Regions from separate parts of the Homo sapiens genome. Here region 1 is linked to region 2. Evidence: promoter capture Hi-C in human tissues and cell types (Jung and others, 2019). All regions are on one chromosome and are shown on one strand. The core of a region is centred on a gene start or on the middle of the fragment in contact, and the rest is flanking DNA. Distances in the headings are between cores, read along the strand shown.

The links. Contacts are between HindIII fragments. The study calls those that stand out against the background at their distance.
Region 1: a fragment that was not itself captured here is called in contact with the fragment with the promoter of CD9 in region 2 in 5 of the 25 tissues and cell types used here (IMR-90 fibroblasts, heart right atrium, liver and 2 more).

What each region holds. Positions count from the first base shown.
Region 1 is chr12:6,326,938-6,333,539 of GRCh38, forward strand. It overlaps TNFRSF1A (TNF receptor superfamily member 1A), which reads right to left. Exons shown (of 10, transcript NM_001065.4): 4 at 6,430-6,579; 5 at 6,132-6,210; 6 at 3,916-3,989; 7 at 3,661-3,774; 8 at 3,330-3,358; 9 at 2,841-3,129; 10 at 1,834-2,685. The coding sequence ends at 2,375. PLEKHG6 (pleckstrin homology and RhoGEF domain containing G6) reads left to right here. Exons shown (of 16, transcript NM_001384598.1): 15 at 317-1,009; 16 at 1,199-1,569. The coding sequence ends at 1,208. Among named protein-coding and RNA genes, the nearest start is that of TNFRSF1A, 12 kb to the right of the region's middle. RefSeq lists an enhancer at 3,301-3,430. The HindIII fragment of the contact is 7,903 bases long and covers 1-6,602 here.
Region 2 is chr12:6,197,192-6,204,132 of GRCh38, forward strand. CD9 (CD9 molecule) reads left to right here and starts at 3,209. Exons shown (of 8, transcript NM_001769.4): 1 at 3,209-3,374. The coding sequence starts at 3,309. RefSeq lists enhancers at 2,081-2,693, 2,694-3,305, 4,532-5,144, 5,145-5,756. The HindIII fragment of the contact is 17,720 bases long and covers 1-6,941 here.

The DNA.
Region 1 (6,602 bases), core at 2,537-5,036, 130 kb after region 2:
GCTTAAGGAGAAAAGAAGAATCGATCATTGAGGATAATATCAGGTAAGTTCAGGAACCACTCAGCAAAAACCTGACTACCCACTCGATACAAGATCCTGGACCAGATGCTATGGATAAAACAGTATAGAGGCAGCCCGTACTCTCTTAGGAGCTTAAAATCTAGCCAGCCAGATGAGAAAAACAATCACAGTGCGATGGAAAGATGATACCAAAATAAGTTTGGAGGAGGGGCCATTTCTGGATGTAGTGATCAAGGGAAACTCCCTGGACTTGAACTTGACCCCTACGCATCTGACTCTTTGCCATTAACTGTAGGACTCCTGAGTTCTCGACCATTATCCCCCACCTGGTGGTGACAGAAGACACAGATGAAGATGCTCCCCTTGTGCCAGATGATACCTCAGACTCTGGCTACGGCACTTTGATCCCAGGCACCCCCACGGGGTCCCGCTCCCCACTGAGCCGTCTACGCCAAAGAGCCCTTCGGCGGGACCCTCGCCTCACCTTCTCCACCCTGGAACTCCGGGACATCCCTCTGCGTCCCCACCCTCCCGACCCCCAAGCTCCTCAACGCCGAAGCGCCCCCGAACTGCCGGAAGGAATCCTAAAAGGAGGCAGTCTTCCCCAGGAAGACCCACCAACCTGGTCTGAGGAAGAAGATGGGGCCTCCGAGCGAGGGAATGTGGTGGTGGAAACACTCCACAGGGCCCGGCTTCGGGGCCAGCTTCCCTCCTCCCCAACCCATGCTGACTCTGCCGGGGAAAGCCCCTGGGAGTCCTCAGGGGAGGAGGAAGAAGAGGGGCCTCTGTTCCTGAAAGCTGGCCACACATCCCTGCGCCCAATGCGGGCTGAGGACATGCTCAGAGAGATCCGGGAGGAGCTGGCCAGCCAAAGGATTGAGGGGGCCGAGGAGCCCCGGGACAGCAGGCCACGGAAGCTGACTCGGGCCCAGCTGCAGAGGATGCGGGGGCCCCACATCATTCAGCTGGACACCCCTCTGTCCGCATCGTAAGTGCTGGAGGGAAGCTGGCCTGGGAGGGGGCAGACGGGGATGTCTGTATGGTGGTGGGGTGTAGTATAGAAAGAGGGCAAAGCAGGAACAGGGGCTGAGGCAGGAAGGGCTCTCCGCCTCACTCTTCACCTGACCCTCACCCGTTGCCACTGAATGTCGCCTAACACCCCCTCCTGTCTTTTCAGAGAGGTATGAGGAATGCAGAGGACCTTTGGCATGCATCTCTCCCAGAGGAGATCTCTCCCCAGTAGTGCTGGTCACCCTCCGGCATCTGTGACTCTACCTCAAGGACCACATTTCCCAAAGGAAGCCTGGCCCAGGCACCCTGCCTCCTGCTCTGTTTGGGGATCAAGAACTGTAAATTTATGTATCATAGGTGCACCTGAGCCCCACAGAAAGTTGTGCATAAAAATGACTGCCCTGGCTGGGCATGGCTGCCTGTAATCCCAGCACTTTGGGAGGCTGAGGTGGGAGGATCCCTTGAGCCCAGGAGTTCCAGACCAGCCTGGGCAATATAGGGAAACCCTGTCTTTACAAAAAAAAATTTTAAAAATTACCCAGGTGTGGTGGTGTGCCTGTGTCCGGAGGCTGAGGCGGGAGGACCCCATGAGCCCAAGGGTTGGAGGCTGCAGTGAGCGCACTCCAGCTTGGGCAACAGATGACGGTGTTCAGAACAAGAACCTGCTACTCCTCTGTCACTTGGCGTGATGGTGATGGGCTACCTGGCCCTAGTGCAGGGCTTTTCCCATCTCACCCCTCAGGATCTGGGCCTCTGCCCCCACCTCCCATCCCGACAGACCACTGTCTCCAAGAGCAGAGCTTTAACTTCAGAATTTTAGTGTATGTACAAAAGTCCACAGCTCCAGCTGAAGGCCCCATTGTTCCGTGCTCGCCCCTGCCTTAGGACAGTTCAGCTTGCTATGTGCTTGTCCAGGCAGAGGGCACAGGAGTGCCAAGTTTCTATTAGTGTAACATGATTGATTTAAAAACAAAACAAAACAAAACAAAAACAAAAAAAACTGCTTATGCACTGTGAAAAAGGCTCAGGGACGAACCAGGGGCCCCCGAGCAGCCTTGCTGGTGAGGACACCCAAAACGGGCATGAGGCATAGCGTCCCTCATCCTCGCAAACCACCCACTCAGGCTCTTGAGCCCACGGCGCACCTCTCTCCGCGCGCACAGCGCTGACTGTCGGCGGCGCGCAGGCAGCTGAGAAAAGCTATGTACATCGAGGGGTTAGCACCAAGTAGGCGGCTGCTAGCTCCTGCTTGCCCCTGCAGGACCCCTCCTTTCCAGAAAAAAGTGGGGTTGGAAGGCGATCTCGCAGGACGGTCCTTAGAGCTGCCCGCAGGGGCGCAGCCTCATCTGAGAAGACTGGGCGCGGGCGGGAGGGCGGCGGGGCCGCAAAGCGCCTCCTCGATGTCCTCCAGGCAGCCCAGCAGGTCCATGTCGCGGAGCACGCGTCCCAGCAGCTCCAGCGTGGCCTCGCGCCGCGGCGTGCGCCGCCTCCAGGTCGCCAGCATGCTGTATTGCGCCTCGCGCAGGCAGCGCCCGTTCTGCAGCTCCAGCCGATCGATCTCGTGGTCGCTCAGCCCTAGGCGCCGCACGAATTCCTTCCAGCGCAACGGGGGCACGTTCTCCACCACGGCGTACAGCGTCGCGGGGTCATCAGCTGCGGGGACGCGGGCCGGTGAGCCTCGGGCGGCAACCCCAGGCCCCGCCCCGCATCCCGCGCCCTCCGCCTCTCGTGGTCCCCTCTGGGAGCGCCTCCCGCGCTCCCCCGGCCCTCCCCCAGCCTCCTCGTCTCCAGCCGCGGGAGAAACTCACTGTCTAGGCTCTGTGGCTTGTGGGCGCTGTCCTCCCACTTCTGAAGGGGGTTGGGGATGGGGTCGGAGGCGAGGGCTGTCGCAAGGATGGGGTCAGCCCCCTGATAGGGTGGTGCCACCTCTCTGCGGGGAGCCGCAAAGTTGGGACAGTCACCGGGGGTATAGGTGGAGCTGGAGGTGAAGGTGGAACTGGGCACGGGACTGAAGCCCAGGGTGGGGGTGAAGCCTGGAGTGGGACTGAAGCTTGGGTTTGGGGCCAGGGGCTTAGTAGTAGTTCCTTCAAGCTCCCCCTGAAAGAGAGAAGGTGGCGCAGCATTAGTGCGGCAGCGAAAACCAGCCCCGGCCCTCTTTATTCTACGTGGGGGTTGGGACTTAGAGGGAATGAGGCGAGCCCCCGGAAAGTGAAGGATGATTCCAGGGGATCTGAGCATTAGGCAATTATAAGGAATGGTCAGGGACATTTGGGAGTAACTCTCTCATTTCATCTCACCTCTTTTTCAGGTGTCGATTTCCCACAAACTGAGGAAAAAGAAAGAAAGCATCATAAATTTCACTTCCTCTCTCAGCCCTGGCACCCTGGACTCAGCTGGCAGTGGGGACTTGTGGTGACATGCCTCAGGGCCTATGTGGCCCCAGGGACGAGAGAGCTACTGATGCAGCTCGACATCTCCCCAGCCATCCAGGGCCACCTTCTGCCCAGAGTCCCCAGCGGTATGAACTGAGGGGACACTCCTCACCTCCCTCCACACATGTCCATCGCACCCACCCATGTCCTCCCTCACCCCCACCAGCTCCCTCTCCCTCCCAAAGCCCCCACTCACCAATGGAGTAGAGCTTGGACTTCCACCGTTGGTAGCGATACATTAAACCAATGAAGAGGAGGGATAAAAGGCAAAGACCAAAGAAAATGACCAGGGGCAACAGCACTGTGGTGCCTGCAGACAAAGCAGGTGTTGGTCAGAGGAGCGGGCAGAGGGGGGCCGCAGGGATAGATGGATGGGTGGGATGGATGGACGGGTGGGGGCAAGAAGAGGGAGAGGGCAGGTGAGCATGGGCACCAGGTCACTTCTCCTCACCTGAGTCCTCAGTGCCCTTAACATTCTCAATCTGGGGTAGGCACAACTTCGTGCACTCCAGGCTTTTCTTACAGCTAAAAGAAGAGACGGCACTGGTGAACAGAGGCCCTACCATTGGAGGAACACAGAAAAACAACCACACAGATTGTTGGACATCCTTTCTTTACAAATATTTTTGCTGTCTCTTGATATAATTTGTTTTGGGAACTGATGCAGAAGAATGAAACACAGTTAATCATAGAATCATTTAATTTTAGAATTGGCAGGGATCTTGAAAAGGCTGTGTAGAAAATGTGAAAAGCAGTCAGGGTCAGGGTGTAAATTCCAGTTCATTCCTTGGCTAGCAGTGTGAATCTAGGCAAGCCATTAACCCCCAAGCCTCGGTTTCCTCATCACCACAGGGATCGCCCACCTCTCAGGATTGAGGATTAAGCAAAATCATTATGCCTCATTTAATAAGTGCTTGAGAAGGTAGCCAGCTAGCTGTTATGGGATTGTTGTTTCATCACTGTTTTGCTGATAAGAATCCTTTGGCAAAGAGAGGTTAAAGGGCTTTTTCTTAAATGACACTGCTAGTTACAGTACCTGACTTCGGGGAGTCGGGGTCAAACATGCATGTGAAAAATTTAAAAACACATGTTACTGGGGCAGCCAGAGAGCACCCTGTAGAACTAGCAGATCTTCCATGTTGGGAGTTGTCACTGGACAGTGTGGAGTGATGGGAACTCTATGGGGTGGTGCTGGAAGGAACTTGAGAGAGTGAGTTCCCAGCAGGAAGCTGAAAGCAGGGAGAGGCACTTTAGCCCACCACTCAAGCTCATGGTGAGAACCACATAGAATGGTATAAAAGTGATTTCAAGAAGAGATGAAGCCGGCTGGGTGCAGTGGCTCACGGCTGTAATCCCAGCACTTTGGGAGGCAGAGGCAGGTGGATCACCAGGAGTTTGAGACCAGCCTGACCAAGATGGTGAAACCCCATCTCTACTAAAAATACAAAAATTAGCCAGGCATGGTGGCACGTGCCTGTAATCCCAGCTACTTGGGAGGCTGAAGCAGGAGAATTGCTTGAATCTGGGAGGCAGAGGTTGCAGTGAGCCGAGATCGCGCCACTGCATTCCAGCCTGGGCGACAGAGCAGGACTCTGTGTCAAAAAAAAAAAAAAAAAAAAAAAAGAAGATTAATGGAAAATAAATAGTTTTGTGTCAGACGTGTTGTAGGTTTTGTTTGTTTCTTTGTTTTTGGTTCTCACAAATTCACCAAATGAATGTCATTATGCTTACTTTAAATATAAGAAATCTAAGGCCCAGGCCAGGCGTGGTGGCTCATGCCCGTAATCCTAGCACTTTGGGAGGCTGAGGCGGAAGATCGCTTGAGCCCAGGAGTCCGAGGCCAGCCTGGGCAATATAGTAGGACCCTGTCTCTACAAAAAGTAAAACATTAGCTGGGTGTAGTGGTGTGTGCCTCTAATCCCAGCTACTCAGGAGGCTAAGGCAAGAGGATGGCTTGAGCCCTGGAGGTGGAGGCTGAGCCACGGTTGCACCACTGCACTCCAGCCTGGGTGACAGAGTGAAACCCTGTCTCAAAAAAAAAAAAAAAAAAAAAACACCAAAAGAAAAGTCAGGCTCAGAGATGTTAAGAAACTTGCCCAACGTCACATAGCCAGTAAGTGGCTATGCTGGGGTTCAAACTCTGAGAGCCCTCAGAGTTTATTCTTTGCAAGTGAGTGACAAGAACAGCCTCTGTGGAGCCAGGAGTAAGGAGGCCTGGACAGTGACTAATGAGGAAATACCATATTGCATCAAACCTAAGACGCCATCAAGAATAAAAGGCACTTTTCTTTACATTACTACCCAGACGCAAACAGAGCTGCCAATTCAACCATGATGAGTCACCAGTTATAGGAGGTTTGATTTCAGAGCTATAAGAGTGTATGTCCTAGAACCAATGAGCTATCGTAGATCCAAGAATCTACATATCTGAGTTGGAAGGGCTGCCAGCCCTTGGGGCATGATCTTCCATCCTCAAAGACTTCTTCAGATTTGAAGAGCAAGGGGAAGGACTGCCTGGTGTCTTAACGAAGTGTCTCCTACTCAGCCAGTAGGACCCTGAGCACTCTGGGGCATCCTGGCATCTGTTGCCCAGCTAATGGTTCCCACCAGTCACCCGTCCCAACCCATGCCACCATCCAGTGCCCAGCAGCTCTCAGAGATACTCACTTACTACAGGAGACACACTCGTTTTCTCTTAGAAAGAAACCTGCATGGCAGGTGCACACGGTGTTCTGTTTCTCCTGGCCTGTAGGGAGAAGTGCGGCACAGCTAAAGGAGAAGCGCCTGCACCCCCACCCCACAGGACAGAGGAAGTGACGAGGGACAGGGTGGGGGCGGCCAGAGAGGAGTTGGTTGTCAGACCCACAGAATACAGGAGGGGGAAGGAAAGGAAGTGCCACCGCATGGGGAAGGGGCCAACCCCTGGGGTGGGGAGAGGGCTTGGCCTCAGGAGAGCTGCGCTCACAGGAGAGGTGCACGGTCCCATTGAGGCAGAGGCTGCAATTGAAGCACTGGAAAAGGTTTTCACTCCAATAATGCCGGTACTGGTTCTTCCTGCAGCCACACACGGTGTCCCGGTCCACTGTGCAAGAAGAGATCTCCACCTGACCCATTTCTGGTGAGGGGAGAAGATGGGGT
Region 2 (6,941 bases), core at 1,959-4,458:
AGATGCGGTTTCACTATGTTGGCCAGGATGGTCTCGATCTCCTCACCTCGTGATCCGCCCACCTTGGCCTCCCAAAGTGCTGGGATTACAGGCGTGAGCCACTGCGCCCGGCCGAGAAGTGCATAGCTTTTTAAAAAATCTTTGTAGCTATCTTATTTAGGAATGGGAGGCAGGTTTGCCTGTGGCAGTTCCCAGCTTGATTTTTTCCTTTGGCTTATTGATTTTGGGGTCCTAAGATTTATTTTCCTTTCACAATACTCTTGTACAGGTGAGGAGACTGAGGCCCAGAGAGGAGGCTGCCTGCCTAACATAGACCAAAGGGTCAGAACCAAGAGTAGAACTCAGACCCCCTCACTTCAGGCCCAATGCTCTCATCACATAAAAAGGATGCCTTGATTATACGAATGTGGCACTGAACTATATAGGCTGACCCCAATTCTTTCTTCAGTGTAAACAATAATAGGAATAGGAGCAACAGGCAGCGTTTCTGCAGCGCTTCTGTGGCAGGCAGGTTCTAAGGCCTCCCTGTGGATTTCCTCTGTCAACACTCACGTTTACCCTAATAAGTAATTTCTATTATAAACTTAAATATTTACTGAACTCCTCCCACCAGTACTTGTTAACTTGGGAGAAGGGGGAGATGCAATAAAATCTTTCTTTTCCTAAGACCTGTCTCCCAAGATAGATGGACGCAGGCCCAAAAGGGCACAATGGAACACTGACTGTTTTCCGGCCTCCTTCCCACCCTCCAGGGTGCTTCACACTCCTCCCCTGTGCTGGAATCATCCTGGACACTGGTTAGGATGTGTAAAGTCAAGCATCACCAAAATTCCTCTGCTTGTCCTCTTGGCATTAGGCTCAGTTTAGGCCCTGCCTCTCCTTCCTTGTCCTCCTTCCTCCCCATGTACCACTATCGGTTGTTTCCCCAGTGCAGCCAGCTGCCCGCTTCTGTGTCTTTGCATATCCAGTTCCCTCTTGGAATTCCCTCCTCCGCATTGACTACTGACTCCACCTTCCCAAGTCAAGTCAGCTGCTGCAATGTCCCCTGCTCTGGGGAGCCTCTCGGACTCAGATTGACGTGGGGATGTGCCCTGTGCCCCTACTTGTTACTAGCTTCTGCTGCTCTGCCTCTGATCTCTCCCTCCCCTTCCCGGCCTGACACCTCATGGGGTTTTGCCCTGCCTTCTCTAGGCTTTATCCCATTGCCCCGCCTTCATTCATTCTTCTCTCACCTGAACTACTCCACAGCCTCCTAGCAGATTTGCACCTGGTCCTCAGCTCAACTTTCATCTACCACTGCTCCCCTCATATTACCTGATTGCGTCTCCCCAAATACAACATCTCCATGTTCCATGCAATCCCGTAAAGCACTGAGCCAAGGACTGGAGATGCCAACAATGGTCCTGGTCCTCAAGGGGCTTCCTACCTGCCCCTCCGGCCTTCCCCCACCCAACTACCTAAAACACAGGCAGAGAACCTCTGAAAACACAGCAGATCCAACCATTCCCCTGCTTGAACCTTTCGGTGGCCCCTAATGCTCAGAGTGCAAAGTCCAGGAGCACAAGGCTCTTTCTCACCTTCCCACAAACTACCCCGTGACTCCAGGCTCCAGCCCAGAGCCCGGACAGCCCCTGCCCCAGCCTTTGCCCAGGATTCTCCCTTGGCGGCAACTTTCCCTGTGGTTCTGCAGCATCATCTCCCAGTCTGGGTCAGAGGCCTCTCCTTAGCCTCTTAGCCCCCAAGCCTCTCCCCGTAACTGCACCTATCACCCTCAAACCATTGTCTGGCTGCCTGTCTCCTCCCACACTGGTCCCTGAGCAGAAACAAGGACTAATCCATGTTTTTCAGCTCCTACCCCTAATGAAATACCCTAATAGATACTGAAAAATGTTTTTGAACCAATGAGACAAGTCTACTGATAATAAACAGGCAAATAACAGCAATGTGCTAACAGTGGCTGTTTCTGGTGAGCAGAATTTTGAGGTCTGTTCCTTTCACTTCTTGGTATTTCGGTTGTTTCTGTAATGACTGTATCTTGCTTTTGTAATCATAAAGGACAGTAAAGGAAACTTCATTTTGAAAATAATACAAAGGGATTCGGGGACTTCAAAAGAAGGTGACTCTCCTCGTCCACTCCAGAGAATCAGGAAAGGAGTGTTTAAAGACCCACAGAATTCCTACAAGTGACGTTGGGGGGGGGCCAGCCAGCCAGGGCGCATGCCGGCCAGCGAGTGGGGTGGGCTCTGGGTCCGGGAGAAGTCAGATCAGTGCTCTGTACAGGGCCTTGAGGGCAAGACGAGGAATTTCGACTTAGGTCCTTGAATCTGGAGAGCTACAGAAAGTTTGTGAGCTCAGGAGAAGCGCTCCGAGCTCGGCATCTGGAGCAGTTCAAGGCAGCAGCGAGCAAGTCCAAAGACGCAGGAGGGAGGGTGGGGTGGAGGAGTAGAGAGAAAACAGAAGCCGTCTACAGACCCTTTTTCCCTCTGGGGCAACTAAACCTCAAGTGCAGGAAGCGCTTGGGGACTGCCCAGCCCTCAGCTGTGTTATTATTCGGTGATAGGTATTTGCTAATTACTTCCAAAAGCCTCCCATCTGTCATCCCACCCAGACTGCGCGCTTCTAATTCCTCCTACCCCACATGCTGTGCCCAATGAAAAGTATGGTCAGCGAGCGAAGGTTTGCAAGGAGACAGACGAGGGCGAAATTAAGCCAGGCGGCTTCCCTTTAAATCCTCGCAAAGCAGAAGGGCCCCTCACTCTGGCAGCAGGCCTTGGCCAAGGGGCCTTTAGCCCTGACGACCCGGGGAAGAGTCTCCCAAAGCAGAACGCCCGGTCCGGCGCCCAGACCAAACGCGGGGGAACCGGAAGGGCGAGGCCTCCACGTAAGTCCGCGGTAAAAGTGGCAGGGAGTGGCTGCCTGCAAAGACCCCAAGACGGCTTGAAGAAGGAGTGGGTGGCGGGTGGGGGTTAGGGCGACTAGGCGGGGAAACAGGGAGAGGGTCGGGCTCCGCGGGGCAGCTGGGGCCGGGGCTCGCCGACCTGGGCGGGGGCGGGGGGCGGGGGGGGTGCGGCCCGGGCGGGGCCGGTGGGGCGGGAGGCGTGGCCGGCGGGGGGAGTGGGGGCGGCTTTTCCCGGCACATGCGCACCGCAGCGGGTCGCGCGCCCTAAGGAGTGGCACTTTTTAAAAGTGCAGCCGGAGACCAGCCTACAGCCGCCTGCATCTGTATCCAGCGCCAGGTCCCGCCAGTCCCAGCTGCGCGCGCCCCCCAGTCCCGCACCCGTTCGGCCCAGGCTAAGTTAGCCCTCACCATGCCGGTCAAAGGAGGCACCAAGTGCATCAAATACCTGCTGTTCGGATTTAACTTCATCTTCTGGGTGAGTGAGCGCGACTGCCGCGCGCTCCTCTCAGGGCCCACCTGTTCGCGGGCCCCGGACACTGGCCGCGGCCGCGAGTGCCGGCAGCTGGCACTGCCCGCACCGGGCAGGCACCGGGCGGGAAGAGAGAGCGCCCTGCGGCTGCCAGCTGGCTCCAAGGCCGGGTCCAGAGCCGGGCGGGACGGCCGCGACGGGCGCATTCGGGTGGGGGCTCATCACCGCCCAGCCGGCGTGGGGAGCCGGGCCCTCTTGAGATGAGGCGTGCGGGAGGGTCCTGAGCACTTTAGCTCGCCTAGGATTTGAGCTGGGGTGTGTGTCTGCTCCCAGCTCAAGTCCCTCCGAGTGCCAGAGAGGAAGGCAGGGAGAAGCGGAGCACCCCTCTTTGGGCCAAGGCCAAGGAGGACTGTGGTGAGCAGTATGGCTTGTGACCGGGTGGGGTCTCCCAGGTAGTAGGGGGCGCCAGGAAGGGAGGGTGCGGGCACGGCGAGAGCTCAGCCAAGAGCGGCTCTCACTTTTACGCAGGAGCGGCAGGGGTGCCTCGGCCGCGGGTCCGGCCCCGGGACCCAGTCCCTGAGAGTCGGGGGCCCCTCCACCCTTGAGGAGGAACCTCGCAGGCCCCCGTTCCCTCAGACTTTGATTCTGAGCCACCGTGAGAGCGCCGAACTCCCTGGTAGCTCCCTGAAAGACTAGCTTGTCTTGATTTCTTTCAAGGACGATAAGTATCTTCACTGGAGAGAACTCAGAGTTCGGGAGAGGAGGGGGCAGATACCTATCTGCGCCTCTAGTGGGATGAGTCCTGTGTGTGCATTTCCGGGAGAGATCAGGTGCCAGCCAGCTGCCCGCCCAGGAGAGCCTTGGCCTTGCCCTCTCCCCTCCCCGCCAGCCCAGGCGGCCCACCCAAGGCCAGGCAGGGCGCAGAGCGGACGTTCATCTGGAGAGGCCAGCGGGGCCAGGAGCTCCAGAGACACCTGCTGCAGGCCACTCAGCCTCTACAAATGGGAAGGCTGAGAGGCGACAGAAGCAAGGAATAGGAAACCCTTGTGTCCTTGTTTCTATAGCCACATTCCCTGCACACACATGACAATACTTGCCGCTCTGCAGGCAGGAAGAGAGTCTCTATGCCACTCTCAAGATAGATGGATGTAGAAACAGGTGCATGCCACCAGAGTCTTGTAACAAAAAAGTGCACTTGGCCAGGCACAGTGGCTCATGCCTGTAATCCCAGCACTTTGGGAGGCTGAGGCAGGAGGATCGCTTTCATCCAGGTTCAAGACCAGCCTGGGTAACATAGTGAGACCCCCATCTCCACAAAAAAATAAAAAATTAGCTGGGCGTGTTGGCATGCACCTGTGATCGCAGCTACTCAGGAGGCTGAGATGAGAGGATGGCATGAGCCTGGGAGGTCAAGGCTGCGGTGAGTCATGATTGCACCACTGCACTTAGCCTGGGTGACCTAGTGAGCCCTGTCTCAAAAAAAGTAGAAAAGAAACAAATGCACTTATTCCCCCTGGAGCTGGTCACTGAGGTCCCCACAAGCCTCCTTAGGGAAATCTTCTAAGATTCACTCCTCCCCAGAGCTGAAGGGGTGGTTGAACAGTTTTTCCAATTTGCAGAGACTGACTTCCCCCAGTGCATCAGTCACCATAACACACACCCCAGTGAGGACGGCATATAGGTGTGCTCCTTCCCAACCCTTGACTTGCTTTAAAAAGACCCTGCTGGCCGTGGGCACCCCTCCTCCTGTGTTGCCACCCACCCCAGCAACCACCCAGCTGCCACGCTTAGCTTCTTTCTTTCACCAATCCCTGGCAGCAGAAAAGTATGCGGGAAGGCAGCTGGCCTCACCCACCCTTGAACTTTGGGAGTTTTCCTCTCCCCTCCCAGGTACAGTCTCTCCCGGCTGGTGTGTTGGTTAGTCCTCAGCTGTCTGCCTAGACTGCATCCAGGTTTGGGACTGCAGGGAAACACAGACTGCCACAGTGTGCCTCCCTACCCCCATCTGCCCCATGGCATATGCAGGAAGCTGATGCGAGGCTCACAGGGCCACTGGTATCTACTCTGTCTGTGGCCTGCTGGCCTGCAATCTGTCCGTACTGTCCTCAGCCTGCCACCCCACTCGTATTCAGAACCCCCTATGCCTGGCCCCAGCCTAGGTGCAGCTGATGACCTATGTAGTCTGAAACAGAAATCACTCACACTGGAAATGTTTGGAATGACTTTTGAAGATCATGCAGTCCAGCTCTCTTATTCATAGTGAGGCAGCAGAGGAAGAGAGATGGGGTGATTTACCCAGGATCGCAGAGACAGAGCCAGTATTACAATTCCTGGGGCCCCTACTTTACTTCTGTCCTCTTCCATCTTCATCAGAGGCAGGAAGATGGGCAGTAGCTATGTTTTCCTGAATTACTGTTCATTTGTCCTGTATCTGGGTCCCTGTGGAGATGAAGCCCTCATCCCTAGGAGATGATGTAATGAAAAGGAAGACTGTGGTCGGTCCACTTGTGCAGAGTGTTAGTCTTTAGAGCCTTTCTTGTTCTAGTCCCATGATGTAGCCAAGAGCAGGAAGCATTGTCCCCACTGTACTGATGATCAGGAAACCATTTCCCAGAGAGGTTAGGTGACTTATCCAAGGTGATGCGGCAGGGTGGTCTCAGAACTAGGTTACTTTACCCAACTGGTTTTGGCTGCTGAGTGGGAATGGGAGAAGGGTGGGAAGAAGCTCCCAAGACTCCCTTAAGGAAAGGTGTAACCTAAGGGAACTGCTTGGGTGATTATGTTGTCACCACGTCCGTTTCTCTCTTGAGACCAGACATTTATAAACTTGGCATTCGGAACCTGATGTGGGCCTTGAAAAGCAGGAATTGTGAGGCCAGTGCCCAGCAGCACTTTGCACAGAGGCTGCTGAGAGGGGGTGTCCAACAGGCATCCAGAGAGAGGCCAACCTCAGTGGAGTAGGATGGTTATTGGGGGGCTGTGCCTCTTCCCTGGCCTGATCTCATCCCTGTGGGTCACTCCCTGATGGCCACAGCCAAACCAGCAAATCAGTCTGTTCTTCCACCACCTCCAGAACCGGCCCTCCTAGCTCTATTTTGATTGTTTCTACATTTCCTTCAGACCTCCCTGCCCGCCTGCCCACCCCCCAAAAAACAGTTGAGAGGGAAAACATCTTGCTGATGTCCATGTGGTAGACACACAAGTATTTCTCCAGCTGAAATGGGGAACCAGGGTTAGGGCCAGTCCAGTCTGACACATGCATGTCTGCCCTCTTTCTGGTCAGAGAAGGGGAGGAACTCCTTAGGGCAAAAGAGGGAAAGGTTTGGCTATACTGACAGAGCCCAATCCCCTCCCCACCTCCCTCAGCCCCTTTGCTTACTGTCTCTCATGCCTCGCTCACTGATGGAAACAGCAGTGTGGGGCTGGGAGGTCTCTTTCCCAAGAAACCATATCCCCTAGACCTAGGGGAGGCTGGTGCGAAACACAGAGACCTACACTGGGAATTCAGAGACCTGGATGTGAGCCCAGCTCTGTCCTCAACTCACTTTGAAACCTTGGGTTGGTCACTTCTGT